Regions from separate parts of the Homo sapiens genome. Here all the other regions are linked to region 1. The links are contacts of gene promoters, found by promoter capture Hi-C in blood cells and fetal thymus (Javierre and others, 2016). All regions are on one chromosome and are shown on one strand. Each heading gives the region's core, a stretch centred on a gene start or on the middle of the fragment in contact. The rest is flanking DNA. Distances are from core to core; before and after follow the strand shown. Region 1 holds the start of TTK (TTK protein kinase). Region 2 has its middle 6.8 kb from the start of CEP162. Region 3 overlaps RIPPLY2-CYB5R4 (RIPPLY2-CYB5R4 readthrough). Region 4 overlaps RIPPLY2 (ripply transcriptional repressor 2). Region 5 overlaps RWDD2A (RWD domain containing 2A). Region 6 overlaps PGM3 (phosphoglucomutase 3). Region 7 holds the start of UBE3D (ubiquitin protein ligase E3D).

What was found. Contacts are between HindIII fragments. The CHiCAGO score rates a contact against its expected background, and 5 or more counts as called.
Region 2: a fragment that was not itself captured here is called in contact with the fragment with the promoter of TTK in region 1 in 1 of 17 cell types (non-activated CD4 T cells); the score reaches 5.8 in non-activated CD4 T cells.
Region 3: a fragment that was not itself captured here is called in contact with the fragment with the promoter of TTK in region 1 in 1 of 17 cell types (monocytes); the score reaches 5.4 in monocytes.
Region 4: a fragment that was not itself captured here is called in contact with the fragment with the promoter of TTK in region 1 in 2 of 17 cell types (activated CD4 T cells and total CD4 T cells); the score reaches 5.2 in activated CD4 T cells.
Region 5: a contact is called between a fragment that was not itself captured here and the fragment with the promoter of TTK in region 1, in 4 of 17 cell types (total CD4 T cells, fetal thymus, monocytes and 1 more). The highest score is 9.0, in total CD4 T cells.
Region 6: a contact is called between a fragment that was not itself captured here and the fragment with the promoter of TTK in region 1, in 1 of 17 cell types (monocytes). The highest score is 5.0, in monocytes.
Region 7: a contact is called between the fragment with the promoter of UBE3D here and the fragment with the promoter of TTK in region 1, in 9 of 17 cell types (non-activated CD4 T cells, total B cells, naive CD4 T cells and 6 more). The highest score is 17.2, in non-activated CD4 T cells.

What each region holds. Positions count from the first base shown.
Region 1 is chr6:80,002,086-80,006,484 of GRCh38, forward strand. It overlaps TTK (TTK protein kinase), which reads left to right and starts at 2,564. Exons shown (of 22, transcript NM_003318.5): 1 at 2,564-2,628; 2 at 3,757-3,897. The coding sequence starts at 3,759. RefSeq lists enhancers at 1,601-2,475, 2,046-2,165. The HindIII fragment of the contact is 2,460 bases long and covers 1,407-3,866 here.
Region 2 is chr6:84,232,237-84,236,635 of GRCh38, forward strand. No RefSeq gene overlaps it. Among named protein-coding and RNA genes, the nearest start is that of CEP162, 6.8 kb to the left of the region's middle. The HindIII fragment of the contact is 2,281 bases long and covers 641-2,921 here.
Region 3 is chr6:83,874,933-83,879,331 of GRCh38, forward strand. The region is part of intron 4 of RIPPLY2-CYB5R4 (RIPPLY2-CYB5R4 readthrough); the gene reads left to right. All of the region lies in intron 2 of CYB5R4 (cytochrome b5 reductase 4), which reads left to right. Among named protein-coding and RNA genes, the nearest start is that of CYB5R4, 17 kb to the left of the region's middle. The HindIII fragment of the contact is 9,219 bases long and covers 1-4,399 here.
Region 4 is chr6:83,853,894-83,857,035 of GRCh38, forward strand. It overlaps RIPPLY2 (ripply transcriptional repressor 2), which reads left to right. Exons shown (of 4, transcript NM_001009994.3): 3 at 204-268. RIPPLY2-CYB5R4 (RIPPLY2-CYB5R4 readthrough) reads left to right here. Exons shown (of 18, transcript NR_174604.1): 3 at 204-268. Among named protein-coding and RNA genes, the nearest start is that of RIPPLY2-CYB5R4, 2.1 kb to the left of the region's middle. The HindIII fragment of the contact is 3,285 bases long and covers 241-3,142 here.
Region 5 is chr6:83,194,808-83,199,206 of GRCh38, forward strand. It overlaps RWDD2A (RWD domain containing 2A), which reads left to right. Exons shown (of 3, transcript NM_033411.5): 3 at 788-4,128. The coding sequence ends at 1,465. Among named protein-coding and RNA genes, the nearest start is that of RWDD2A, 3.6 kb to the left of the region's middle. The HindIII fragment of the contact is 1,829 bases long and covers 1,002-2,830 here.
Region 6 is chr6:83,177,114-83,181,512 of GRCh38, forward strand. It overlaps PGM3 (phosphoglucomutase 3), which reads right to left. Exons shown (of 13, transcript NM_015599.3): 7 at 2,697-2,854; 8 at 1,560-1,643. Among named protein-coding and RNA genes, the nearest start is that of PGM3, 14 kb to the right of the region's middle. The HindIII fragment of the contact is 1,054 bases long and covers 2,461-3,514 here.
Region 7 is chr6:83,063,907-83,068,305 of GRCh38, forward strand. It overlaps UBE3D (ubiquitin protein ligase E3D), which reads right to left and starts at 1,935. Exons shown (of 10, transcript NM_198920.3): 1 at 1,736-1,935. The coding sequence starts at 1,812. It overlaps DOP1A (DOP1 leucine zipper like protein A), which reads left to right and starts at 3,765. Exons shown (of 39, transcript NM_015018.4): 1 at 3,765-3,873. RefSeq lists enhancers at 3,574-3,643, 3,674-3,823 and a silencer at 3,994-4,263. The HindIII fragment of the contact is 10,412 bases long and covers 1,591-4,399 here.

The DNA of each region.
Region 1 (4,399 bases), core at 1,314-3,813:
AAATTTTCATAAACTTTTTATTTTTGAATAATTTTTAATTTACAAAAAAATTCCAAGTGTATTAAATAGTACAGTGAATTGCTGTATACTGTTCATTGTTTTTCTGTTAAGATCTCGCATTACTGTGATGCATTTTTCAAAACCAAGAAACCAACATTAGTGCATTTTCATTAACTAAACCTCAGACTTTATTTGAATTTTACTAATTTTTCAATTAATGTCATCCTCCTGTTTCAGGATCCAGTTTATGATATCACAGTGCATTTAGTTGTCATGTCTTCTTAGTCTCCTCTGTGATGGGGTGGTATTAATTTTAATAATATATTTTATTTAACTCAATATAGCAAAAATATCATTTTAACCTGTAATTGATATTTTTAAAATTATCAATGTTTATTACTTTTTCTTATTCAGTCTTCAAAATCCAGAGTGTATTTTATACTTAACAGTACATCACATTTCATACTCAGACACTTTCACTGGAAATACTTCATCTGCATTTGGTTCTCACAAAATTTACAGTTGAAAAAGTAGGTTCATATACTTACATTGTTCCAAGTATACTTAAAAGTCTTCCAATAAATTCATGACTAATGCAAGTTTAGAAAAAAGAAAGCAAAAAAAATTACTTTAAATAGTTTAAAAATAATCCCATTAGATATCAGTTTTCAAATTTAAATATAAATTTAATTAATCAATTAAGGTTAATTGATTTAAAAATTCAGTTCCCAGTTGCACTAGACATACTCAAGTGCTCAATAGTCACAGACCATCACAAGGACTTTTGATTTTATTCCGAGCTAGAAAGGGAGCACTGAAGGGTTTTGAGCAAAGTAGTGACATAATCTGATTTAAGATGACTTTGCTATGTCAGAGAATAAATTGAGGTGAGGCAAGGGCAGAAGCAGGGAGACCAGCCAGGAGGCTACTGCAGGTAACATCAGTTAAGTGATGCAGATGCCTTGGACTGAAGTGGTGGCAGTGGAGGTGGGGAGAACTGGTAGGAGTCCAGGAATCTCTTGTGCCAGCCCTGACTCAATCTGCTTATGAGTTAGATAAGGGATCAGGGATGACACAAAGGTTTTGGGGCTAAAAAATTTAAGACAATGAATTTGTCTTTTATAGATTTTGTAAAAAAAACAGGTTTGGGTAGGAAGATCAGGGGCTTGGTTTTGGACATTTTGAGTTCAAGATGCGTATGAGACATGTAAGTGAAGATGTTAATAAGTAGGCAGTGGATATCTGAGTATGGAGTTGAGGAGAGCTCAGCTAATGATACACATTTGGGAGCCATCAACATATAGATGGTATTTAAAAATAGAAGACTGAAGGAGACCACCAAACGAGAGTACAGAAAGAAGTGTTAGGGTGAGGTCATCCAGCAACAGTATTTTAAGGAAAATGCAAGCTTTGTGATCAGGCCGCAAACAGATCAACGAGAATTGGAGGAATAATAAACTCTTTCCAGGCAGAAGCATTAGATGCAATGGTGCAAAGGTAAGTGATTAGCCAACCATGGTATAGCAAGTCATTTTGCTCTGCTGAAGCAGAAATACTAGCTAGCTGACACAGAAAGATGCATTAAGTGATTGAGAAGGGCTCTCACGCTAGCTGGGTGGCTATCCAGAGCTGGGAATGTGAGGGTTCTAAGGATAGCTTTGGAGTTAACAAGTGACAGCTGCAGTTAGTTTCCTATACATACACAAAACCAACCCGTCCTACCACAGAATATATGTCATAATGCTGGCACAACAGACACATCCCTTTTAGTTTTGCAGACGAGGAGTAACCGTTGCCCTGGACCACAAAGCCACTTAGCGGCAGAGCCTCGCACCCGCGAAGATTATTACTAGGGAGATGTTTTTACCCCTGAGGACACCTGAGCCCTTAAGTGGGGCAGGCTTCGAGGGAGGGGGGCCGATAAGGCGACTTCAGACAGGGCAATCACGATGGGCGCTTGAGTTCTGCGCAGAATTTTGACAAGGGGGAGGGTCTTGGCTTGAAGACAGAGCGTGGAGTCATTTAAGGATAATGGAAGGGCATAAGCAGAAGCTCAAGGATAAAAAGCACTGAAATTCTTGAGCTGGCGGCAGGGCTGAACGTAGCTCAGTGAAAGATCCTTTCTTGCCACATCCTCTCTAAGCCAGGCTGTGAGAACCGCGGGAAACGAAGGAGAAGGGTGGCGGTGGGGTCAGTAAAGGGCCGGCCCAAGGTGCATCTTTTAGGTCCTGATGCTAGGAGCAGCCGTCCCTGCCCCTATATTCCTCTCACTGGGTAGGTTTGCTCGGGAGTGGCTACCTCCCAGGCAAAAATTCGGCCTGGTTAAACTGGAAAGACCAGGAAAGCCCGCCCACGGGCGTCCGGGGAACGCCTGCAAAGTGCCAGCACCCTACCAACCCAGGCGCCGCACGGGTGGGGTCGCGGCCGCAGGCTCTTCCGGGGCGGGCCTAGCCTGACGCAGGAGGAGGGGCGGCCCCCGTCGCACAAGAACCAATCACGACTGTCGCTTCTACGTGGCTAGCATTGACCAATAGGAGACCGTAGTGATAGCGACGGGGAAATTCAAACGTGTTTGCGGAAAGGAGTTTGGGTTCCATCTTTTCATTTCCCCAGCGCAGCTTTCTGTAGGTAAGTTCTGTCTTACCGGTGCACCGGCGCACTGAGGAACAGCCGCAGCCGGTGTAGGGGCTCATTGTTAGCGCTGGTCGGTGAGGGGTGGGGCGAGGTGGGGGCAGCTCGGAGCCAGGTATGCGACGCGGCTAAACGAGCTGGAGGGGGAGGGGATGTCTCACTGCCTCAGCGGGTCTGGCCGGTGGGGTGATGCAGGAGGTTTTGTTGAGGAAGTAAGAAGTGGGTGTGGCCCACGCTGGAAAGAAGGGGTGGTGGGGTACCTGCGCACAAGATCGTTTTCCAAAGGACAGTCTCTCTTGTTTTGGGGGTTAGAACTGGGAAAGAAGCGGGTGGCCGTGATCTGACAGTTATCTTTCAAACCTGACTTAAGAGGTGGAGTGATACCTTGCTGCAACTTTATGACTTTTTTTCATTGTTAAACCTGAAGACGGGGCAGCATTGTTATCAGTGACACTGAGTTGGTGTTTGAGAGTCACAAAGATACGATTAACAATAAGACTGCAGACACTTTATTGAACAAACACCACCACCATGCAGATAAGCAAGTGCTCAGTACCAGTACAATAGTTTCTTAGTGTTAGATTAAGGTAGCAAATCGTGATTCTGCTAGATATGCACAAGAATAAATCTGCGGATTTCCTAATTATCAGTAAAGCCCCATCATGTTTATATTCTGCTTTGAAAGCACTTGCACTGGAAGATTTACTCAAGTAAAGCAGGCGAATAAAGGAATTGTTATTCCCATTGCCAAACGAATTCTTTATGTCTATGTCACTACCAGAATCCAAGCAATCTTTATGTGTATGTCGCTACCAAAATCCAAGCAAACACTCTATCATATTTTTTTTAAGTGACACTAAATTTGCAGATTTCTACAGTGTGACGTCATTGATGTTATATTGGGGGAAAAAGTATACTTGGCCTATGAAACCTTGGTGAATAAATTACAAAGATGTGTACCTTGTTGTTGTGCACTTACCTCCATTAATACTAGCCTAATAATAGCTGCATTTAGATGTGTTCACAAAACGAATGCTTTAGTCGTCTGGGTTCTAAAAAGCTAGTGCATTTTTTTCTTTGATGCTAGTTAAAGTAGGAGTTATGACTGTTCAGTTTTTTTCTTAGAAATGGAATCCGAGGATTTAAGTGGCAGAGAATTGACAATTGATTCCATAATGAACAAAGTGAGAGACATTAAAAATAAGTTTAAAAATGAAGACCTTACTGATGAACTAAGCTTGAATAAAATTTCTGCTGATACTACAGGTGAGTTTTTCTTTTCTTTTAAGTTAGTAACTGTTTGTTGGGTATCCTCTAAGGTAAAGATATAGTACTAATCACTTTATTTATAATTTACTCATGTGTTTATTGTCTTTCTCCTCCATTAGAATGCAGGCTACATGATGGCAGGGTTTTTGTCTGTTATATCCACAGAACTTTGAATGGTGTCTGGCACATGGTAGGTAGGCACTTAAACATTTATTGAACAATGATTAATGGGTGAAAATGCCCAGAGTTTAATACTCTAGCTCTTCTAAAAGTATTAGCTCAGAAGCCTGATTCTTTACTGTATTTCAAATGGTTGGTCATTTGAATGGTGACCTTTGGATAATTTTCTTACATCTATACTAACCTTTAAATAGATGAGGAATTGAAAATAAATGGAAGAACCTGTGATCTAATCATGGTGGCTGACTGTTCACTTTGAAAAAACCTAGAAAATGATAGTTTTAGTGTTAAGCAAAATCTTAATGGAGTATAATTGTGC
Region 2 (4,399 bases), core at 531-3,030, 4.2 Mb after region 1:
TAATAAATTAAAGTTTGACTAATATTGCGGACTAATTGCTATAAATATATTAATTTATAAATAAATATTCATAAAGTGAGTGTGTTTGCCTCCAAATAGTTTTACTGACAGGGCTATATGGAACATTACTGATTTACTGAATGGAACTCTTAGAACACAGAATTACTTTATTAAAATATGTCGATAAGGTAGAAATTTGAAGTTGTGCTTATTATTTCTTAAGCTAAATGTTTTGGATTACAAATATCACTATTTTGTTGTATTAAGAAACCTAATGAAGAAAATGATTATAATATCTTTTAGCCAGAAACAAGTATTTTTCCAGTCACAATCTGTAGTCTTAAGCATAAATAGGCCATATAGAGTCATTTTCTAACCGATGGTCCTTTATTAGTTCCAATTTTGATGGTTGATACTCTACTTTTCTGTGTGCTCCATTGGACTGTCTTATATGTCACATTCACATGTTCATGGCCTCGTCTTTTACTCTTGTCACTGCTGCTGGGACCAGTTTCGCTCAGGCTTGACTAGCTTCACAGATTAAGTCAAAAGTGTGCCTGCCTTAAGCCTGCATGTGAACCTCTTGCTTTCCACTCCCTGGGGTTTCTCTGATACTTGAGGGAACCCATTCAGCACTCAAAGCTTGCACATCGGAAGTGTAAGGGACTTAACTTCTGTGGGCTAACCCTTGACCAGTGTGGGGAGGAACCGATGAATAAATGCCTTCTGCTTTTCACCCTAGGGTAGACAGTATTGATACACATTTCATAAGACTTTTCAGAATGTCTGCTGTGATTTGGAACCAGTTGTTCACAGCAATGGTTTGATGATACATTCTTGTATTGGCTCGCTCGCTCTCTCTCTCTCTCTCTCTCTCTCTCTCTCTCTCTCTCTCTCCCCCGTCACTGTCCTTATTCATCACTTCTACTACTTGACAACTCATTTCCAAATACATTACTTTCATTCAAGTCTATGTTTAATGTTATCCTTTCAGGGGAACCCTGGGAAAGACAGATAGTATTAGAGTTATCCCTAGAAAGCAGACCATTAGGATAGGATTTGGGAACTGAAGAACTCATCAGTAAGATGGCAATGAAGACCCCATTGCTGAAAGAGATGGAGTGGTGATAACCAGTGGAATGCAATTGCTAAGATTCTCACATGAGATTGGTTAGGCAGAGGTACAGGTGGAATGTGAGGGGTTATTCATATAGTATGATGGCAAAGGTAATTATTAATATTGTAGAATGACTGGATTTTACTAATTGCTTTGGATGCCTTGAAATAAAGACAATTAATGGCTCAGGTCAGCCACAATCAATGTGCATTATAAAAGTCAAGGGCTTATATCAGCATTTGAGGAAATCATCCTTTCCTGCAGCTGCAGTAGAGTAGGTGGTGAAAGTCATGCCCAAGATCAAATTGTAAGAGTGGCACAGTTGCAAAGGGAATTGAAGCCACAACCTTTCTGGGTCTTCTGAGTCAGGGTTCTGATAGCAAATAGTGGAACACTGAACTTGGAATATGGACATTTGGGTGGATAAGTCTGGGAGTCTTGAACTCTCAGATTTCCCTGAACCCTCAATAATGGCAGAAGCACTCCCATTCTCCTTACTAGAGCAGAACATCCTCTTCCTGCCTAGAGACCTTGAAAAGACCTAAAGACCCTTATGTGAGGGAGGAAACTCACAAGATGATGCTTGTCCTCCTCAAGATCTGTCTGGTCACCATTCATTGTCCCCCTGCTAGTAGCTTGGGTCAGGTCTCAAAACACCTGAGCTGGGAAATATAGTTCTTTCTCCAGGAAGAAATGGTTTATAGGAATTGCAGGTCCTAGATTATATGTACTAAAAGAAACCAGGGAAATACATGTAGGGGTGAATTTTGAGAGTGTTGACTGGTGGGGGAAATAAAATAAGGCTGAACAGGGAAGATTTTATTGACATGAGAGCACTCACTCCTGAATTGGGGCTCAATTTCCTAGTAAGGACATCTGGAGCTGGTCTTAATATTCTTCTGGGAAGTTTCCTTGAAGTCTGCATGTGATGATGGCAAATAGGAAAATGAGACAGAAATGCTGAAATTGCTTTGGCTGGTATTAAGGAAGATTTGAGAAGGCTCATGAAGATAGGAATGTTAGTGTGGATTCTTTATATGATCTCTAGCATCTGTCACCTGACTTTGTTCCCTGAGAGGATCCAGAGGATATACCCTTCAATAAGACAGAAAACAATTGGCTGGTGAGGGGAACATCAGAATCTGAAAAACCTGGTGATGTCTATCCTCCCCATGTCAGGGTTAGTAACAGGAGATGCTGCTTGAAACTAGTCTCCCTAGTATCAGTGAAGGTATGGGATTTCTCAGTGAAAAGTATATGTGGTGATACTAAACTGTCAGAGGCAAGATGGTTGCAATTACTGAAATTGACAGAAGTCTATAGTAGCAGTCTGGCTGTCTTGACCTGCAGGAATCTGTGGCAATGGCTAATAAATTGCAGTTTGAGGGATGAGGTACATGGATAGCTGACTGGGCAATTTGTGTGTGTGTGTGTGTGTGTGTGTGTGTATGCAACAACAACAACCAAAATATCTTCATGTGATGTGCTCCATCAGAATATAAGAAGAATATGAGCATCAGCTATCACAATGGAAAATCTAGGTCCTTCATCCAGCTTCTAGATTTATGTAATTTTGTAGACCTAGATCTCATTGGTTAAAAGGCAGGGCGAGTGCCCTTAAGGAAAGACCCTGCATTGTCACATGAATAATTATAAACATTCTCCCTATCTTTCCACAAAGGGACCTATGACCATTTACTAGGGTAACACTGCACTGAGGAAATAATTATAGTTAGTTTTTTGAAGACTGTTGAATAGGGAGTATGAGCTGACCCTAATGCTAACTGCTTTAGAGAGCCAGAAAAGCTTCCATGGGTCTCTAGTTAGAGTGGGGGTGTTTGGAGGCTAGATGAAAACTGGAAATAAGAATAGTTAGACTTTTCAAGGATTGTTGGATAAAAGGTATGAGCTAATACTGATGCCAGGGAACCTGAAATGCTATCATGGCCTTCCAGTTAGCATGAGGGCATATGAGGAAAGGTAAAAGAGTCCTAGCCCAAGTATGTCTCACAGAGGTTACAATGGGTCTGTGGCTCACTCTTTGATTCTTTCCCCAGTCCATAAATAAATAATTTATAAAATTTCCAAGTATGTAACTGAAAGGAGCCTTATGTTGATTCCAGGATCTGTGGAGCCGTTATGGTAGGAAGTACTAAGTGGAAGTCTCTGAAAACATGCCACCAACATCCAAGTGAGTAAATCAGAATCAAGACCTCTTCATGGGAGGGATGGCAGAGACTAGCACCTCTATGTATCTGGAAAATATTGTCTTTTAAATCACCTTTGGAAAAAACATCAAAAGCAGTTGGTATGCACTTGGCTAGGATAATAGTTTACATTCACTATTTCCCCCCATAGCTGTATTAACTCTGCTGTTCTGTATCACAATGTAGCCTGTAGGAAACTTAATTGGCTTGTCATTTCACAACATCATGATAGTCTACTGAATGGCATCATGTTAATTGCACTAGATAAGGAAGAAGTGGCAATTATTCTAGATGCCCTAATTAGGCACATGAACACCAGAGGGTGGGATATGAACCCTACAAAATTTTAGACTACTGCCATATTTTTGAAATTTTAGATGATTATAAAAGATAAAGATAAAAAACAAATTGTTACACATTGGAACCTCCCACCCAGAAAAAGACATAGTGCTTCATGGGCCCTTGTAGATTTTAAAAGCAGCATGTACTGCATTTGCGAGTATTGTACTAACCCATTTATTGGACTTTAGTGTTACCCAGAGCAATAGAACGGTCTGTAACAGGTCCAGGTTGTAGTGTAAGCACGCTGGAAGCTTGGTCCACATGACCCAGAAAATCTGATGGTGGCTAGCAATATCCATGGTAAATAGGGGTGTGTTAAACATTCCCTAAGCCTCAATTGCATAGTCAGAAGACAGATCAGTAGATAGTGAAGAAGATCATGTTTTCTGCTCTTGAAAGCTACTTGCCAATTTGAAAAGTTTTTAGTGTGTTACATGGTCCTGGTAGAGGCTGAGTGCTTGACCATTAGTGTTTTAAAACCACAGTGCAATAAAATTAGAACTCAGTATTAAGAAATTCACTCAAAACCTCACAACTTCATGGAAACTGAACAACCTGCTCCTAGATGACTACTGGGTAAATAATGAAATGAAGGCAGAAATAAAGAAGTTCTTTGAAACCCATGAGAACAAAGACACAATGTACCAGAATCTCTGGGACACAGCTAAAGCAGTGTTTAGAGGGAAATTTATAAGAACTAGTGAAGCAAGTGCAAACAATTTCAAAAGCTAGC
Region 3 (4,399 bases), core at 824-3,323, 3.9 Mb after region 1:
CTGCCTCAGCCTCCTGAGTAGCTGGGATAACAGGTGTGCACCACCAAGCCCAGCTAATTTTTGTATTTTTAGTAGAGATGGGGTTTCACCATGTTGGCCAGGCTGGTCTCAAACTCTTGATCTTGTGATCTGCCTGCCTCAGCCTCCCAAAGTGCTGGGATTATAGGCGTGAGCCACTGTGCCCGGCCGTCTTTATTCTTAAGTTTCAGGATATTAATGTACCACTTTTCTCCCTATATCCCTTGCATCTGGCAGAGGGCATAGCTCATGGTTAATATTCAGTAAATGTTCTTTGAGGCATGTGTAGATTTTGATATGTGCAAAACTTTTTATTTTTTAATTAAAATTTTAATGTTTTTTTAGATACTGAGTCTCACTATGCTGCCTAGGCTGGACCCAAACTCCTGGGCTTAAGCGGTCCTCCTATATCAGCCTCCTGAGTAGCTAGGACTACAGGATGTGCAGGACTTTTAAACCACATTATGGTAGTGTTACAGGACCACCACCACTTACCCAAAGGTAGCCATTGGGTCAGGATTTCTGCACTGTGGTCCCTTCTGTGGTTACAGGAAAGTGTTCCCGATCCAGACCCCAAGAGAGGGTCCTTGGGTCTTGTGCAAGAAAGAATTCAGGACAAGTCCACAGTGCAAAGTAAAAGCAAGTTTATTAAGAAAGTAAAGTAGTGAAAGTACAGCTACTCCATAGGACAGAGTAGGGTGTTCCTGAGAGTAAGAGGAGGAACGCATCCACCCTAGGTACAATGCTTGTATACATGTGGAGATGTGCTCTGCTACAAGGGTTTGTGATAAAGGATTAATTTTCTTAATTACTACATTTTGCAAGAATCAATATTATTATCTTTGAAGAAAAATTAGGAATGCCTTTGTTCTCCAGATATCAGGATATCTGGATACTCCCAAGTCTGGGTCTGTTTAGTGGATACTATTAATTTGTTCCCTTAACCACAAACATCTAGAGGCTAGGTATGTCTGACTTTCTCGGAATTTAGCCTGGCAGGTCCCAGCCTCTTTTTCCTAGCCCTCTCTCAAAATGGAGTCGCTCTGGTTCGAACGCCTCTGACAGTAGGGATATTCTAATGTTATCACAAGATAGAACCCAGCTGAGGGACTTCCATGTTTCGTGTTTCCATATTGTTGGCTCCTGGAGTTGGGAAATATACTAGTTCCTTAATAAGAAACTTCGTTATTTCTGGACAGTTCTCTAATATAGATTCATGGTCTATCAATTCAAATGTGAGCAACAGCCTGATAGGTTTCATATGGTTTCTCTCCTTTGTATAGTTTTGTATTTTCTTTTGTAGACTTTGCACACTGTGGGGATTGGGTAAATATTGAAGATTTCTTAAGGGTCATTTTTGTCATTAAATACTTTTTAATGAAGTATTTTATTTTGAAAAAAGTTTCAGACTTACAAAAAAGTTGCAAGTGTGATGCAGTGAATTCCATAAATTCTTCAACTGCCTGGATTCATCCATTGTTGACATAGTTATCATTATATTTTAATGAAACCATTTTTTCTCCACTATTATTTTTTATACTTCTTTGCTTTTTTTTTTTTAGCAGCTGCTCTAAGGGTTTATGATATACATTTCTAATGTATCAGTCTACTTTCAAATAATATACTATTTCACATATAGTATAATAACCTTTTAATAATATACTTCCATTTTCCTTTTCTGTGCCTTATGCTGTTGTTGTTATTCATTTTACTTCTATATAAGCTGAAAACCCCACAATATGTTACTATTTTTGCTTTATACAGTTACTTATCTTTCAAAGAGATAAAGATAATTAAAAAATTATATTTTATGTTTACCCACATTTTACCATTTTCTGTGATTGTTATTCCTTTTTGTTGATCCAGATTTCTGCTGAAGAACTTCCTTTAACTTTTTTTTTTCAGACAGAGTCTTGCTCTGTCACCAGGCTGGAGTGCAGTGGCACGATCTTGGCTCACTACAACCTTCGCCTCCCAGGCTCAAGGGATTCTCCTGCCTCAGCCTCCCCAGTCTGGGAGTACAGGCGTGTGCTACCACACCTGGCTAATTTTTTATATTTTTAGTAGAGATGGGTTTCACCACATTAGCCAGGATGGTTTCGATCTCCTGACCTTGTGATCCACCCGCCTCGGCCTCCCAAAGTGCTGGGATTACAGGCATGAGCAACCGCACCCAGCCCTTTTAACATTTTTTTATAGTGCAGGTCTGTTGGCTATGAATTCCCTCACTTTTTTTCTGAAATGTCTTTATTTTGCCTTCATTTTAAAGATATATTGTCATTGAGCATACATTTCTAGATTGACAGTGTTCTTTTTTCCGTCAGTTTAAATATGTCACCCTATCGTCTAGTTTGCATAGATGAGAACTCTACCATCATTCTTTTTTTCCCATAGTATGTGTCTTAGTTCATTTTATGTTGCTATAAAGGAATGCCTGAGGCTGGGTAATTTATAAAGACAAAAGGTTTATTTGACTCGTGATTCTTGATGGCTTGAAAGTTTAAAATTGGGCATCTGCATCTGGTGAGGGTCTCAAGGAGGAAGATGAAAGGGAGCTAGCGTGTACAAAGATTACATGGTGAGAGAGGGGGAAGGGCAGGAGTGGGTGGGTGGGGGAGGATGTGCCAGGCTCCTTTTGACAATCGGCTTTCACAGAAACTAATAGAGTAAGAACTCACCCACAAAAGAGGGCATTAATGTTTTCAAGAGAGATCTACCCCGATGAACCAGACACCTCCCATTAGGCCTCACCTCCAACACTGGGGATCAAATTTCAACATGAAGTTTGGAGGGGACAAATGTCTAAATCATAGCAGCGAGTAAGATTTCTTTTTTCTCTGACTGCCTTTAAGACTTTCTTTTAGGTTTTTAGCAGTTTGACTATGATATGGTTTTCCCTGTATTTTTCCTGCTTGGGGTTCTCCAAATTAATTTTGGGAAATTTTCAGCCATTATCTCTTCAAATATTTCTTTTGCATCTTCCTCTGGGATTCCAGTTACAAACATGTTAGCCTATATTGTCCCAGGGCTCTTAGATGCAGCATTGTATTATCTCACTCTTTCCTCTTTTGTTTATGTTTGAATAATTTTTATTGCTCTTTCTTTAAGTTTGCAGAGTCTTTCCTCTATTTCCAGTCTGCCAATAAGCCCATTAAAGAAATTCTTCATTCTAATATCATGTCTTTCAATTTGCTATTTCCTTTAGACTTTGTTTTATGGTTCCCATCTCTCTGCTGGAAATTTCTCATCTGTTAGATGTCATCCACATTTTCCACTAGATTAAAAAAAAATCAATCATAGGTATTTTGACATGTCTAATAGTTCCAATACATTCTGGTTGTGTTGCTGTTTTCTCTTTTGACAATGAGTTGTTGTATCTTTTAAAAAAGATGTGTTTTGTAAATTTTTTTTTTTTGAGACAGAGTCCTGCTCTGTCACCCAGGCTGGAGTGCAGTGGTGCAGTCTCGGCTCACTGCAAGCTCCGCCTCCCGGGTTCACGCCATTCTTCTGCCTCAGCCTCCCCAGCAGCTGGGACTACAGGCACACGCCACCACGCCTGGCCAATTTTTGTATTTTTAGTAGAGACGGGGTTTCACAGTGTTAGCCAGGATGGTCTCGATCTCCTGACCTTGTGATCCACCTGCCTCGGCCTCCCAAAGTGCTAGGATTACAGGCGTGAGCCACCGCGCCCAGCCGTGTTTTGTAATTTTTGAATGAATGTCACACATTACATATAGAAGAATAATAGAAACTGTGGTATTTACACTCAGACATGTAGTACATTTTTTTTTTTCTGGCAGGTAGTTAGGTTGAATCAATCTAGTAAGTAGTTGAGCTAGATTTGGAGTGTATTTTGCTATTGTTACCATCAGTGTACCACAGACTTCAAATTCCTCCAGTGGTGGGCCACTGCTACCTTGGTTTTAATTCAGGGCCTGCAATGCTAGAGGGTTTTTTTCCCCCATTGTTCTTGTTCTACTCTTAGCTGACACCTTACCCTATATATCTTTGCAGGATCTTTCTCCATTGCTCTTCCCCCTCTCCAAAAGGCAGTGCTGTTACTTATTACTTGGTGTAAGACTTGTAGTGGGGGCAGAAGGGGTTTTGCAGTTTTCCTGTTTCAGCCTCAGTCTTAGACAGGTTTTATGCACCTGAGCCCCAGGGGCTGAGCTTTCTCATTGCTTTTGTACTTCCCCAAGGGCAGATAACTCCTGCATCGTACTCAATGCAGCATCTAGAATGCAGGCAGGTTTCATGAGCCTCTTCCCTTTGTGGCAGCTGGACTTTGCCTTGTATCAGGTGGGGAGGGCAGGGCAAAGGGTCTAGGATGTGAGCAGTTTCCCTGTCTCTTTTCCAGTGTGAGAGTATCAGTGTTTTGTAT
Region 4 (3,142 bases), core at 633-3,132, 3.9 Mb after region 1:
TCCCGCCTGCCGGTGGCCATAAAGGTGCCGACGCGGCGGATGTGTCCTCTGGAGCGATGGGCCACAGGCACCCAGCCGGGAGCGAGGCTGCTGAGAGCCCTGGGGTTACATTCCCAGCGGGCACGAGGAACACTGGGTCGTGCACGTTTCCACTTTCTAGAAGGAGGTGGGTGATAACTGGATTCACTTCCTTTCCTCTCCAGATGCCCGATGGCCCTGGAATGACCGCAGCCTCAGGAAAGCTTTACCAATTCAGGCACCCAGTCAGGTGAGTGACAGGCCTCGCCGAAGGTCTCCCGCTCCTCCAGCCCCAGGGAGGAGCCAGGGGCATCGCGCAGCCCAGCTCCGCAGCTGGTCCTGCAGTCTCTCTCTCTCTCTCTGAAAATCTGGCTTCAAGGTTACTTATCTTCTCACTCATCAAATTGAAAAAGGTAGGGGCTCACGGTCCCACGTAAAGGGACTGTTGATGAATACATACTCAGTGAACTTGATGAATATATTACGAAGAGGGAAAGGGGATGATATGGTAAGAGAGCGGTGACATCTTGTGCTGGCAAAACAGTTTTTATTTTTAAATCCTAAAGGGTTCGAATGAAATTGACTTCGCATCAGGCAGAGTGTGTATGCTGCTTTTGTCTTGCAATCTGGAAGGAAGAATGGGATTAACAGTTACAGTCTTACAAGTTTGCCGAGTAGGAAAAAATAGAAATGTAATGAAAATCCTAAAGATTATTGAGAATGGTTATAGAAAGGGTCAAAAGTTTATTTAACTTGCGGAGCTAGTTTACTGTTCCTAGTCACAGGAAGTCAGCCTTTATCTAAGATTCTGTGTCACTTTTATTCAGGTGAAATGTTAAGAATTCTGCAGTTTTCCTGCCTCCGAGAGCTGTTAAATGAAGAGCTGGATGATGTTTGTAAAGTGCCCCTGGTCATAAATAACACATAGAAGTCATTACATCTAATTTCCTACCGTGTGCTAGCACTGGTGAAGGACACAGGAAAAAGTAGTCACAGCACATGGCAAGTGTTGTAATGGAATTTAGTTTGGTTAGTTTTACAAGTATGGGCAGGGCACGAAGTGCCTAAATCTGTCAGTGGTAGGGGGAAGGGTCAGGGAAGTGTATATTATAAGTTGTGGTTACCTGGCTGAGTCTTGGAAAAGTTAGTCAGATGAATGGGAAGTGGGAGCAAAAGAAATAGCATTGGAAAAGAGAAGCAGGATCATGAAACGGTGTGGCTCCTTGCGGGAACTCCAAGGAGTTTAGGTGTGTGAAGTTGTGGTCATTTTAGCAGGGTAATCAGAGGCCAAATCTTGCACACTCTTGTACAGAGTTCTGTCCTGATCCTGTATGTAGTGTTGGGAACCCATGGGCTTTATTCCGAAGGTAGTCTTGGGGGTTATATGTTAAATAGGCTTAGTCAGGGCATCAAAAGTAAAACTGGAAGTTCTGCAATTTTTCAGGTAAGAAATAATGATGAACCATTGTAAGACAGTGGAAGTGAGGGTGAGACTGGGTGAATCTAGGAAATACTTGAATGACAAAATAGATTAGGCTTTATAACGTATTGGATATGTTAGGTGAAGAAGAGGTAAAAGGCCAGAATGGCTCCTAAGTTTGTGGCTGGTGAGCAGGTGAATGCTGTACTAAAAGAATGTAAATTAGGGCCGAAAACAGATTTGGGAGGTGAGATCATGAGTCAAGTTTTCCACTTATCATATTTAATGTGCCTATGGGGCATCCAAAGAGTGATATCCTGTAGAGAACTGCGTACGTAAGTTAGGGGCCCAGAGTCAAGATCTTAAGTGGAAATACAGACTTGGGAGTCCATGGTAAATGTAGGGTGGGGAAATCATGACAGTGGGCCAGGTCATCCTAGTTTGTTTAGAGGGAGGGCTGATGTTCTCAATGAAAACCTGAGGGAAGGCCAGCATCTAACCAGTACACAGAGAAAGAGAGGTCCACAAGGAGACGGAGAAGAATCAGAACAGGAAGAAACTCAGAAAAGTATGCGGGCCCTGGGAGAAAAATGGCCCACAGTGAGAAATTCTGGACAGAGTATCATAATGACTAGCATTCTTTGGGTTTGCCAGTTCCAGTTACGCATTAGGAAATAAATTGTTTCTTATATAAGAAATTCCTTTCTTTTCTGAAGTACGGTTACAATTTAATTGTTCTCTTATATTTTATTTTTATTCATTTATATCTTGACTAATATGGTGTGTTTTATTCTTTTTATTCAGCTGTCAACTTTTTGAGGGTAGGGACCATGATTTATTCATCTTTAAATTGTGAATTATGTTGGCACAAGGGATCACTAAAATATTTATTGAACGACTGAATAATTGATAGTTACTTGTTTAAGCATCAAAAATATAAACTTTTTTTATGATTTTTGCTGGAAACATTTATAAACTGCATTGTTTGTTTTTCTGCCTTTTAAAGTGGAGCATACTGAACATAATGTAATCTTCCATTTGTTGGGATGACTCCATTGTATGGATATATGGGCTGTTTACCCTGCACTAAAATGACTGCACTGTACTTGGTGATTCAGCCTTATCTCTCCTCTTTCTTTTCCTTGATGAAGACCAGAAGGCAAGATTAGTATTTGTCAGATTTTTGAAATTCTGAGGTAATAATACTTACATGCCAGTTATTTGTATAAAACATATATAATTTCTCAACATTTCATATGATATTCACAAATTTAGTTGAATGGGGAGAAGACAGGCACATAGAATCAAAGTTGAGGTCAGAAGTAGTCTTTCTATGCCTCAAGTTGTGAGTGCATAGACAAAAATTTTAAAATACTGGTTTTTATACATTTTTAAACTTACGTTGTCTACTTCTATAAGAGTTAAATCTGTGAGTTTTAAATAAGATAATAGGTTATTTCCACCTTTTTGTAAGGTGCATAATATTTTGTCATCTTTATAAAGCTGGCTATCATTAAAGTTTTTAATGTAGTGGTAGAACTCAATTCATTTTTTCCAAAGGAATTTAGAAACTGGAAGACAAATCTTCTATATATTATAAGAATAAATATATCCATAATGTACAAAGTAAGGTAAACATTGATCTTATGCATATCCAGGGTTTAGTGTAAATTTGTTTGATCCAATTTACAGCTTGAATAAAGA
Region 5 (4,399 bases), core at 666-3,165, 3.2 Mb after region 1:
TCTTTAATTTTATGTAAACATATACACCTTTTTAACAAATATACCTGGAGTTTTTATTGACGCTATCTTGCAGTCTTATGCCATTATTATTTTGTTCACCCATCCAGTTGGACTACCTTTCACATGTATCATGATTTTCATAAATCTAAATATCTCCTGTAACATAACTGTCTTTTAAGGAGTGAATGAGTGGATTTTTTGATGGCACCATAACACAGAAAGCAAATATGGATGGAAAAATCTAAAGACTAAAAATGAATTTACCTCCATCTTCTGATCCATTTATCTCCAGCAACATTAGCATAGCATAGGTAATACGTGGACTGGGCATTTGAGAACCACTGTTGTAGCTATTTCCTACTCATCCTTCAGTTGTTATTCCCTCAGAGGAGACTTTCTGGTTCTCCAGACTGGATTCTGTCCCGCTGGTTACACACTTCAATGGAACCCTCCACTTTTCCATGGTAATGCTTTTCACAATTGAAATTAAATACTTGCTATATGTAATTATTTGTTTAATGTGTGTCTCCTTCACTAGGCCCTGGACTTCATGAAGGGCAAAAATAGTGTCTGGTTTATTCACTTTTTTATCCCAGCACAAGGGCACCTGGCACACGTAGTTGTTCAATAAATATTGAAATAATGCATAAAAGGAAGCAATCATGTATGTAAAGTACCTGGTACATTTAATAGTAGCAATAACATTTCTCAAAATCATGCAGTTGCTATTGATAAACTAGCTTATGTGATGTTATGGTATTTAAATCTATTTGATTTTCATTTTAAGGTGAAAATTGATTTGCAAGTGACCATGCCTCACAGCTACCCCTATGTAGCATTGCAGCTGTTTGGACGGTCATCTGAACTTGACAGACATCAGCAGCTACTTCTCAACAAAGGTCTCACTTCTTACATAGGGACTTTTGATCCAGGTGAGCTCTGTGTATGTGCAGCAATCCAGTGGCTACAGGACAACAGTGCATCTTATTTCCTGAACAGAAAGCTTGTATATGAACCATCTACACAAGCAAAGCCAGTCAAGAACACATTCCTCCGAATGTGGATCTACAGTCACCATATATATCAGCAGGACCTAAGGAAAAAGATTTTGGATGTTGGGAAAAGGTTAGATGTGACTGGATTTTGCATGACAGGAAAGCCTGGTATAATCTGTGTGGAGGGTTTCAAAGAGCACTGTGAGGAGTTCTGGCACACAATTAGGTACCCCAATTGGAAGCACATTTCCTGTAAGCATGCTGAAAGCGTGGAGACAGAAGGAAATGGTGAGGACCTGCGCCTTTTCCATTCTTTTGAAGAGTTACTCCTTGAGGCTCATGGTGACTATGGATTAAGGAATGACTATCACATGAATCTGGGCCAATTCTTAGAATTTCTCAAGAAGCACAAAAGTGAGCATGTTTTTCAGATACTATTTGGTATTGAAAGCAAAAGTTCAGACTCATAAAAAGCGATTAAGAGGCCTATGCCTGTAATTTCACTAAGTCAGTATTTCTGTTAATAAGACCAAATTAAAAAGGCTAGTGGCTGTGTAGCATCCTCAGTGCAAAACCCAGCTCCAGAATTTTCACCTGGTAACGAATTTCAACTGACAGTGAAATGAATAGGCCTTTAAACTTTATAACATTGCAATTGTGATGTTATCTCTAGGTTTTTGTGTGAAGTCATTCAAAAACTATTTCATTGTAAATTAATAAAAACAATCCATTTAACTTGTGAAGCTGATTTGATTGAAGAGGAATCCAAAGCCCATAACTAACATCAAAAATCAAACTGCAATTATGAATTGAGAAATATGAATAGCATTTGTTTCACATTGCTAGCACACATGTGACACACCCACTTGTCTTTCATTATTGGAAATCTAAATCAAGTTTAAAATGAGAACAGGAAGGACATGTTTACTTCCTTTTTTGAGACGGTGCGATCTCGGCTCACTGCATCCTCAGCTTCCCAGGTTCAAGCGATTCTCCTGCCTCAGCCTCCCAAGTAGCTGGGACTACAGGCGTGCGCCACCACGCCCAGCTAATTGTTATATTTTTAGTAGAGACAGGGTTTCATCATGTTGGCTAGGATGGTCTCAATCTCTTAACCTCGTGATCTGCCTGCCTCGGCCTTCCAAAGTGCTGGGATTACAGGTGTGAGCCACCGCGCCCAGCCCGTTTACTTCATTTCTTACTTTAAACTCCTATTTCGAGTGTTTTAGTAAAACTAGATCCTAATAGCAGTGGCAAAGGACTCATAGACATGAAGTCCCACGAGTTAAAAGATGACACACAATGCTATGTGTTCTGGCTGTTTATATCAGTTCATGATACTAGCAATCCTGATACCAGTATTAGTTTAATTCTTATCCAGAAAAGATAAACACATGGTTCCTTGTCTACAAAGTATTCGCCTGTTTCAATCCAACCTTTGCCTGTGTGCCAGTATGCATTACTATAAAGGGCAAGAGACTGTTGAGGGGACCAGTGTGGATATCTGCATCATTACCTTATTGGGAAAAAAAAAATCTAATTCTACAGTCCGATGATGTTACTGCCATCTCCTCTGAAAATTCCAAGCTCCACAGGCTTCACCAGGCTTTTCAAAATGAGAGTTTATTTTAATGATTAAAAACCGCTATTTAAGTAGCTCTTGCCAAGCCTTTTCATTACCAGGTCTCCATCCCTCCCCAAGTATTTCTGCGAGTCTCATGTGCTAAGAGATGTCTTGAGCAGCCTCTGCAGCTTTCCGTGTTTCTGTGGTCAGCTACTGCTGCCCTTTCCCGGGAGGCATTCCATTCTCCTACTGGGTCCTCTCAAGATGCCAAAGCTTGGTGCTGGGATTTAGGAACACATCCTGTTAGATGTCAGACAGTGCTGCTTGTGCTGGGGAGCCTACAGAACTTCTGATGAAACTACCATCTGGTTTTACCCTCTGTGCCGTGGATGCAGACGTGTCCTTGGGCTACAGAGAGGACATGATGGAGCAGGAGGCCCTATCCCAAGGAGGTGTTAGAACTGGGTCCACTTTGTACTGCCTCTTTCTTCTTAGGTCACAATGAGTGTCCTCTCAGGGCACAACTCAGATCTTCAACCCATGGCTCGCTGTAGGCCTGCCCCGCCAGGTCCTCCAGCTTGCCATTCATGTTTCCATCCTAGCCTTGGTTGTGCTGGAACTCAGGCTGGAGCCTGACACTTTGCCTATATGCAAAGGGAAGAAATAGGACTTACATTGCCAAGGAATCACTTCTTAATGTTTGCCAGCACTAAAAACAACAAAGTATAGGAATCTTTTTCCCCCACAGTCTCCACAAAGCTATCAATAAGTATAATTCGCATTTACAAGTTTTAGGCCTTCAACAGATGTAACTCCATCCAAATGAATCAATATGTGCCATCAACCTACCTTATAGAGGTGTTTTTCCTGATTACATGAGCAAAAGTAGCTACAGAAAGATGGGTGTAAAGAAAAGGCAATAAATTCTAGGTTATGAACTCTACTGCTTCTGGAGCTATTTCTGAGATTTTTCAGAACCTACTTTTTTATAAATAAGTCTAATTTGAGCATTCTGCAATACTTTTTTTCCTATCAGGAAAACTAATGCAGATAGTATTATGGGGACGTGTAGGTTTTATAGAAAAAAAAAGTACATGTATAATTCAAAACTCAACTTTGTATGTATAGGAGTCTGCTGGTTGTTTGCACAGCCTGATATGAGCACATAATAAAAGTCCGTCATTCCCCAACCCCCTCCCCCTACACACACAGCTTATTTTGGGAAACTGCCCCTTCCCTGTGTGATTTGGGAAGAGAAAGTGATAGGAATCAAGTTGTCCTCTGGCAGCCTCCTGGAGAGATGGCTGTGAGCTCTTGCTGCTTAAACCTCTAGTGCCACCCTCATTTCTGACCTACTGAATGCTCAGCTGTTTGGCATTTCCTTTGAATGACCCAGCATCTTCCCTTTTGTTGTCGGAAATCAGAATCAGTCTCTATTGCTTGTAACTTAAGAATCTGGATATTCTGTTTATTATATTCTTAAATGGTTATTTGGAAAATGTGCTCATTTATAAAAGTTACAGTGTCTTTTTAAAGTTTGCTGAAGTAAATGAAGCATATCGTCAAGTATGTTCTTTGCTTTTCATTCCTTACTGGTCTATTATGTGTTAGGCTAAGAGCTGAGGACACCTGCATAGTGAATTGAGTAGGCCAGATGAGTTGGCAGACCACAACACAGGGACCTCTAAAACATTCCTTATTAAATCAAACATACATTGCCTGTGAACTTGAGCGTTCACATATAACTCCTTACATGCCATCCATCCCCTCTCAGAACCTGAGAAGGTTCTGATGGTGTCTGTCTGCAGCCTTCATGGAACCCTTTTGAACAGGTTTTTTT
Region 6 (4,399 bases), core at 1,738-4,237, 3.2 Mb after region 1:
CTGGCACATACTGACCTGTTTTTAGCCCCCTGCTGCCCTCATTCACTTTACCTGTCCAAATCCTGCAGGAATCTGACTTTGTAATTCCTGCTTTCTAGAGAATGGAAAGGTAACTAAAACTAGTATAAATGCCAGAACGAGGTACAAAATGAGGTACAAAAAAGTTGGAAAACTTCTCGATAATGAGAAAGTATAGGCAAACAGACTTCCAGTTTTGTCCATGAACCCTGGTAACTCTCCGAGCAAGTAGTGTGGTGCCAAGGGTGGTCACCTGGTGGACACCGGGGAAATAATTAGAAACAGAATCTCCCACCACCCCAGAAAACCTCTCCAAAAAAAAAAGAAGGGTAAGAAACAGTTTTATTACTGAATAAGTATTAAGCCAAACTGATGTTCAATCACAGGCTAATTTGCTAAGAGATAGCAAAGATAAACGCTCACCCTTTAATATAGCCAAGCGGACACATTCCAATACAATTTGCTAAGATAAAAGATGGCTAATGACAAAAATTCTCTCCTTGACCAAACTTTAGTTAGGTTTAGGTGGGCCTGACTAGGCCTTGTCCTTAGGCATGTCTTCCAATAGCCCGATTTTAATAAGAGTCATGCTAAGTGAGCTTAGCGAGAATCCCTCATCCTGATACATGACCACTCTTGACATCTGATCTGAGTTCTCATTCTCTACCATCCCCCAGGTAATATGTGACCGCCCTGGCCTACCTTCAGCAAAAGTCCTGTTAGATCAGTTTAGCCAAAATACCACCCACTTACCCTCATGTTTCCTCTCAGTAATTTTTCATCCACTGACCACCCCCCACACACCCTGCTCCTTGGCTATAAAGCCCTACTTTTCCTTACTATATTTGGAGTTGAGCCCAATCTTTCTCCTACCACTGCAAAACTCCATCACATTAGTCCCTGTACCTATCACAACAGTCCTGAATCAAGTCTGCCTTACCATTTTAACAAGTGTCATGAATTATTTTTTCTTTAACACTAGTCCTCAAATAGGAAAACTTGAAACCACCATTTGTCACACACATAGTTTATCCTAAACTTACTTGGTAATAGGGATGGCCACCTGTGTTAACTGCCCTTCTCTAAAGGAGTAATAAAACTTTTCATACCTCTGTGACAGGTAGATAGTTACAAATTGGACGCAAACACCTAAGTTAAACTCTCCTGAGACTGGGAGATAGGTGAGCTATCTTCCTTGATGTTTATATTTGAAATTGGTGACTCTAGGCCCTTAAAGAAAAGTATTCCTGAGCTATAAAACTGGCTTATTAGGCCTTTAGAAAGACTTACATTCATTACAAAGGCACAGAGAAAGAATTCCAAGTTTTCTAAAGGAAAACTCCAAGAAAAGGAAGGAAAGAAGTTTTCCTTTATTCATCAAGGACAACTAAATTTTTTCTTATTTATTTCTCTTTACCTTTACATGAACAGCAGCTCAGCTTCATGCACTACAACATAATCACTTTTATGAGGGCAGTATCTTTCTCACAGAAACATGATCTTAATTAAGAAACTACCAGAAAACAAAAATGGTTCAATACCTTCATAACTTCTTCAAGATACCGTGTTGAACTTCCATTTGCATATGCAGTTTGTACAACACCAATATTCAAACTTTCTCCAATCTAGACAAAAACAATGATACTTAACTTGCCATCAAAAGTATGGTCTACAAAAACAAATATAATGAGAGTTCTAAAGGCTACCAAAATTATCAGCCAGTTCAGTTGTGCCTTAGTTTATGCCAAAAATGTCTGACTGAAAATTTACATGTATGCCAGGAAAAAAGCCTAAAATACATTTGAACACTATTTAAAACAATTCTATGAGAATTCCTCTTTTAAGAAGCCTGTATCTCCTGATCTTCACCTCTTTAATTTTTTAAATAAAAGTATCTGGCCAGGCACGGTGGCTCACGCCTGTAATCCCAGCACTCTGGGAGGCCAAGGTGGGTGGATCACCTGAGGTCAAAAGTTCGAGACCAGCCTGGCCAACATGGTGAAACCCCATCTCTACTAAAAGTACAAAAATTAGCCAGGTGTGGTGGCATGCATCTGTAATCCCAGCTACTTGGGAGGCTGAGGCAGAAGAATTGCTTGAGCCCAGGGAGGCAGAGGTTGCAATGAGCCGAGATCACGCCCCTGCACTCCAGCCTGGGCAACAGAGCAACACTGTCTCAAAAAAAAAAAAAAAAAAAATCTATTAAATTCTTAAAGTATGCTGTTTCCAGATTATAATAATTTCCAATTACATTGTGTACTTAAAGCTAGCCTGAGATTTATTTCTAAAATAGCAAAATGAAACAAATCTCACATTACTAAGCTTATCATAATCAGTTAATATATCAGATGATGAGATTTCCTATTAGAATTTAGGGCTTTTATGGAGTGACCACAGAACTGTCATCAAAGTTTCAATTATGATGGAAGCAAAACTTCCTAAAGCTTCAAATCACAAAACTCAGCCAGTATAAGGAGGAAAAGAGTACCTTCAGGTTCCAAAGCCAATGCCTCAAATGTTCAAATGACTGGGTATTACCACTGCTCTTTTTTTAATTTTCTGCCCACTAATGTAAAGAATTTGTCATAAATTGTGCCCTTCTGACAAATGATTGTAAAATATGGAACTATTTCACTACTAAGTCTTGTTTTAGAGGGTAGCCAATCCCCCCACCATACCTCCACCAGGAGCTCTTTAAGGAAACTGCTAATTAACGTTGCTATCTTGTCTCCATCTATGAGATGAAAGTGGCCATCTGCATCATGGTAGTAATAAACAATTCTGTCTGCATCTCCATCAAAAGAACAGCATCTTTCATTGGACTTAATTTCCATTCCTAGCACACAGGATAATTTAACATGCATTTCAGTCTAAGAATTTATTATAAAGAGTTTTAGAATTTTCTCTTAAAATTATCCACCTAAAAATCAATGTCTTAATCTTAAATAGTGTATAATCTTTAAATAGTACATAGTTTATTAGTGGTTTTTACAGGTCAAATTCTTTCACTGCAAAGTGAAAAAAGGAGCATTCAAAATCTATGCTGATATTTGCTATAATACTACCATAAAATTCCACTTTATAAGCAGGTTGGTTTGGCTAGACAGGTGTCCCATAAAGGTTTTTTGAAAGCTACATGTATTTCTGAATGTAATTTACCTAGGACCGTGATCTCCTTTACATAGAAAAAATAATCAGCACTAGATGATGTATGTGCTTTAATTCTAACAGAAATGATTTTTATTTGTTCATACCACCAATAAAAAGAAACACTGATAATTAAGAGCAAAGAATTATAACTTTGAGAGATAACTGGCCTGTGAAATTTACATAAAGTTGCTGAAATCTCAGCAATTGTCACATCAAATTTATTAGAAAATTTGGCTATTCCTTAGCCATGACAGCAGCAGAGTGACAAATTCAACATGAGACAACTAAGAAGTAAAAGGCTTTTGTCAGGAATGGGATCATAAGATTGATGAAAGGACATGATGCAAGCTTCAGGAAAGCAAGGACTATGGTTTTGTTCATACTGTAGTCCCAAAGCCTAGAGCATAGAGAGTAAGAGCTCAGTATTTAAGAAATGGATAAATAAGTGGCAGAACTGAACTGTCAAGTAAATGTCAAAACAAGCAATTCAATGAAAAGGAGCTCAAATTGGTTGACTACACTGACATTTTAAATGCTTACTAAGTAAAGCATAATAACATGAATGAATGAGGCAACTGGATGAAGTCTGTAGAGTTCCAGAATGCATGTCCTATTTTAGGGGAGCAGCATCTATCTGACTGTAGTGGACTAATGCCATGTGTGAACATTTTCTGATTTTGGTAAAGAGATGCTAGAGATTCCAATATATAAGAGAAGTCACGGAATTTTTAAACAGTGGCACACAGACAAACACACAAATGCAGCCAGCCAAACAAAACATATCTGCAAGTCAGGTTTGGCCTAAGCAAATAATTTAGGGTCTATAATGCAGATAAATCCAGAACACCTCTTACTACAACTAAAATCTGAAGAAAAGTCTTCCTCCTATTCTGCACTGAGTGGAAAACACTGATTGCTAACAACTGTATAAGCAGAGTTACATTTGCTTTCCATAGTGTATTTAATTCAGATAAGGTATCTAATAATACTTACTATGCTCCCCTGTAGATCTGTGATTCTCAAAAAGGGATCCCCAGACAAGCACTGGGAACAAAGCCTGCAAACTTGATAGAAATGCAAATTTCTATCATATGCAAATCCTATGCCAGACCTCCAGAAACTCAGAAGTGGAGCCCAGGAATCTGTGTGCTAACAAGCCCTCAAAGTGATTCTGACACATGCCAGTTTGAGAACCACTGCTCTAGAATGCCATTTCCTGACTTTGCTTTCC
Region 7 (4,399 bases), core at 685-3,184, 3.1 Mb after region 1:
TGTATGTCCAAAAAAAGATTTATACAACAGTGTTATGACAGCTGTATTCATAATAAGCAAACTCCAGAAACAAGAAAAACATCCAGCAATAGGAGAACAGATAAATGAATTGTGGTATATTCATACAATGGAAAACTTAGCAAGAAAAAGGAATGGACTACTGATATATGCAGCCACATAGATGGAACGTGAATCTGAAAAATATTATGGAAGGAATGCAGCCAGAAACAAAAAAGTATATATTGTATGAATCCATTTATAAGTAGTTCAAGAAATGGCAAAACTAAGTCCAGCAAAGTTAGGTTTCTTTTTTTTTCTTTTTATTTTTTATTTTTTGAGACGGAGTCTCTTTCTGTTGCCAGGCTGAACTGCAGTGGCGCGATCTCAGCTCACTGCAACCTCCGCCTCCCGGGTTCACTCCATTCTCCTGCCTCAGCCTCCTGAGTAGCTGGGACTGACTAAAGGTGCGCGCCACCACACCCAGCTAATTTTTGTATTTTTAGTAGAGACAGGGTTTCACCATGTTGGCCAGGATGGTCTTGATCTCTTGACCTCGTGATCCGCCCGCCTCAGCCTCCCAATGTGCTGGGATTACAGGCATGAGCCACCCGGGTACCTTGCCTAAACAAAGGAGAGTAGTCCAAGGGAACTGTGAAAGGCCCCTGCATGAGAGGAAGGGAGGGTTTGTTGTGTGTGTGTGGTTTTTGTTTTATTTTGGTAGGGTTTGGGTTCCTAATTACTCTACAAGGTGCACCAGAATTGGAGATATTTGTCCAAATTCATAAATTTTGAAAGAGAAAAAGAAATACATTCAGAGTACTATTATTCCCATTTCAAGATTGAAGAAATTCAGATTAAATTATTCTAATTTCGTGAGGAAGCTAGCATTTGAACTCAGTTCTCACGCCATATTCCAAATTGCCACACCAGATATCTGGCAGATTTAGGGAAGAGGAAAAAATTAAGCATCAATCTACCTGTGGCACCGTGTAATACCATTCTCAGGATTTTAACTTCTAACTTACTCTCTTTGAAACAGCGATCACAAAGGAATAGACAAGGGGACCACAAATCATTAAAACTGCTGTCAAACAAAATAGAGAACATTTTTCCTAAAAGTTATTTGTGTAGCGAATAACAAGTTTGACGTTCTCACTGGAAGGAAGAATATGAATAAATGAACGAGCTCCAGTAAGAAGTCTACAACCTGTCTTAGTGGTTCACTAAACTCACGTTTATTGAATGATTGTGTGGTTTCTCTGCAAAGAGCAGTTTTGGACGAAAAGACCCGAGGTTATTTACAAAACAAGAAGCTCACATAGGAACTGATCCAGTAAGGAGGATCCCGAAGAGAGACAGACAAATCATTTTTTGCATTGTTTTGTTGGAAACGCCGGGCACTGCCAACAGTGTTTTACATCACTGTTCCTCAAATTTTAATGTGCATTTGATTCCTGGAAATCTTGTTAAAATATAAGTTTTGATTCCATAAGTCTGGTGTGGAGCTGAGACCCTGAATTTCTAAAAAGCTCCCCAAAGATACCCACACTGTCAGTAGGGGTGGGAGTGGCGGAGCCGACTACAGGGGAAAGCTTCACTTTGAGTGATCGAGAGGCTCTACGCAACTGGAAAGAAGAAACTCAAAATCCCTCGTACAGAGAGAGACTCACCAGCCCCCGACCCCCGGGCAGCAGTAAAGCGAGCTGGGCACTGCGCCTAGAATCCCAGTTCTTACCCCAGGATCAGAAGCGCGCTCTGCAGCTGTCCCCGCACCTCCAGAAACACGCGCGTCTCCGCCGCAGAAGCCGCCATGGCAGGCTTCCAGTCCCAGACCGGACCAAGCTGGAGGTTCCGAGGGGCCCGGGTCAACAGGACCAGGAGAGGTTCCACGTGCGGACCAACCAGCGGCAGCCCCGCTGCGGCGCAGGCGCCTGTGCCAGATCGCAGGGCTGGCGCCGCCTACCAGCTCACAGCGCCACCTGCCGGCCGGAGAGTGCACCACCGAGAAGGCGCGTGACCCCGGAGGCCGGGGCGGGGCGCGCATTTTCAAAACCAGGCTTTGGCCCAGAGTGCTGAGAAAGGTGGGCGGCGAGAGGCTAGCTATCGCCCCACTCTGCTTCTTATGAGCGTGACTTGGCGCGTTAGCATCCCTGGAAATGACCATAAAAATCAGACCCAGGGTTCACACCTTTGGCTAGCTCGAAGGGAGGGAGATGATGGAGGCAAGTGTTACAGGTGGGCTTTGTCCCCAGGAGATGCAAGAACAGAATTCCCGGCCCCAAACCCACTTTATCTTGGTCTCTTTATGAACAAGGGTCGTTTGTTAGCCTCTATCTAAAGCGACAAAATTTTCAAGAATTGACTTGCCATTGCTTCTCAACTTAGACAGGATAGCTCCAAAATTGAAACAGGTGCAAAAATATAAGGAAGTTCTTTGTTACCTAATGCAGAAGAGTGTGGCTGAAGTCTATCAGGACTAACCATTTTTTAGGGGGTAAAAAAGGAAGATGAGAATGATTACGTATGTACAGCTCCACTATTCACTTTCACAAAAGTAAAAACTAAGAGAAGTTGGAGAAGTTTACTACCAGAAGATAGTTTTGAAAAGTTTGACACAGTAAAGAACCTGGTATAATGTAAATACTTATAATGAAGAACTATTAAAATATAAGACCGGGTAGAATTACAATAGGGCTTCTTAAAAACAAGGAGCTGCTTTTATTTATTTATTTTTTTTCGGAGTCTCGCTCTGTCGCCAAGGCTGGAGTGCAGTGGCGCGATCTCGGCTCACTGCAACCTCTGCCTCCTGGGTTCAAGCGATTCTCCTGCTTCAGCCTCCCGAGTAGCTGGGATTACAGGCGCACGCGCCACCATGCCCGGCTAATTTTTCTGTTTTTGGTAGATCCGCCCACCTTGGCCTCCCAAAGTGCTGAGATTACAGGTGTGAGCCACCATGCCCAGCCTAAACCATAAATAAATTCTAAATAAATAAATCCTGTCATATATTTTAAGATAATAGCTTGACAATTTTTCTAAAATCAGTATTTGGGGTGATTAAAGTTTATTATGTTGATGCACAAATTATTATATCTATCACAATAATTTGAAGTTATAGATGGAAGCAACAACTCACTTAAAAAAATAAAGTTTACTATTATTTGGTCTCAAATAATTCATCTATTTGAAGGATGATGATTTCAACTCTTCATATCTTCCACCTTTAGTACCCGAGGCTATTGAATGCTTAAATATTGACACATTATATTGAAATATACAACTTCCGTAGCACAACTTACTCTTTATAATTGTTTTGTTAGCTTAAAAGATTTTTATATATTTAGTTACGTATTTGTAAAAACTTTCATTTTTTTACGGTATGGTGTTGGCAAAACGGTGCAATTTACCTTGGAGTAACTAGATATGATTGATAGAGCTCTAGACTCAAAATAGTTCCAAATCTGACACCAACTACTTGTCTCCTAACTTCACAAGTCTCCTAACCTCTCTGGGATGCAGGTTACTCATATGAAATATTGAGAAACTATTCAAATAATATTTAAAAGCTGTTTTCAGTTCCTATTATCTCTTCAAATGAAAACATCTGCTAACCCCCTTTCTAGCCACTCCTGAAATTGGTAGCCATGGCCGCTTCCCGCGACAGTCCACTTGAGGGCGCTGTGGCAACAGCTAGCGCCGGGAGGCAGGAAGCCGATCGGGGGCGGGGATCGAAGGCCTCAGACGTCGACGCCGGCGTGGGCGCGAGCACGGTGCACTCTGGGAGCTGTCACTAGGCCCTTCGGCTCCCGGTCTCGGTGTAGCTGCCGTGGTTGCCAGGAGAGCTGCGCCGGCGAGAAGCGGCCGAGCCAGCAGCAGGTAAAAGCGTCCCTGCCCCCAGTGCGGCCGCTAGGCTGGTAGCCGGCTCCGAGCATCCTTCTCGGCCCGGCTAGGTCCTGAGCCGCGGGGACGCCTTGCGAGTCTGACTGCTGTGGCGTCGGGGGTGTTGCCGCTCCGGCCCCGCCAGGAGCTGCGAAGCTGGTCGGCCGCCCTCTGGTTTACGGGGAGTCGGGAGCTGCGCGGGGACTGGAGGGCCAGGGCTGGGGCCGGGGCCTGGGCCGGGCAGAGGCGCGAGGGCGGCCCCAGGTGAGGGAGGCCGGAGGCGGGGCCGGGGAGCCGGGGACAGGTCCCGAGCCTCCCCTGCTGGGGCGGAGCGGTGCGCAAGGCTGGGGCAGAGGTCGCACCTGTGCGATGGAGGCGTGCGGAGTACCCTCTTTGTTGAAGGAATCGAGGCGTTGTGCCTTCTCGGCTGGTGGGTTCTTTTAGCATTGAGGAGACACGTAGGCCCGCGATGGTTCATGTTCTCCGTGGGGCTTAGAAAGGAGTACCGAAGTTTATTAAGAGG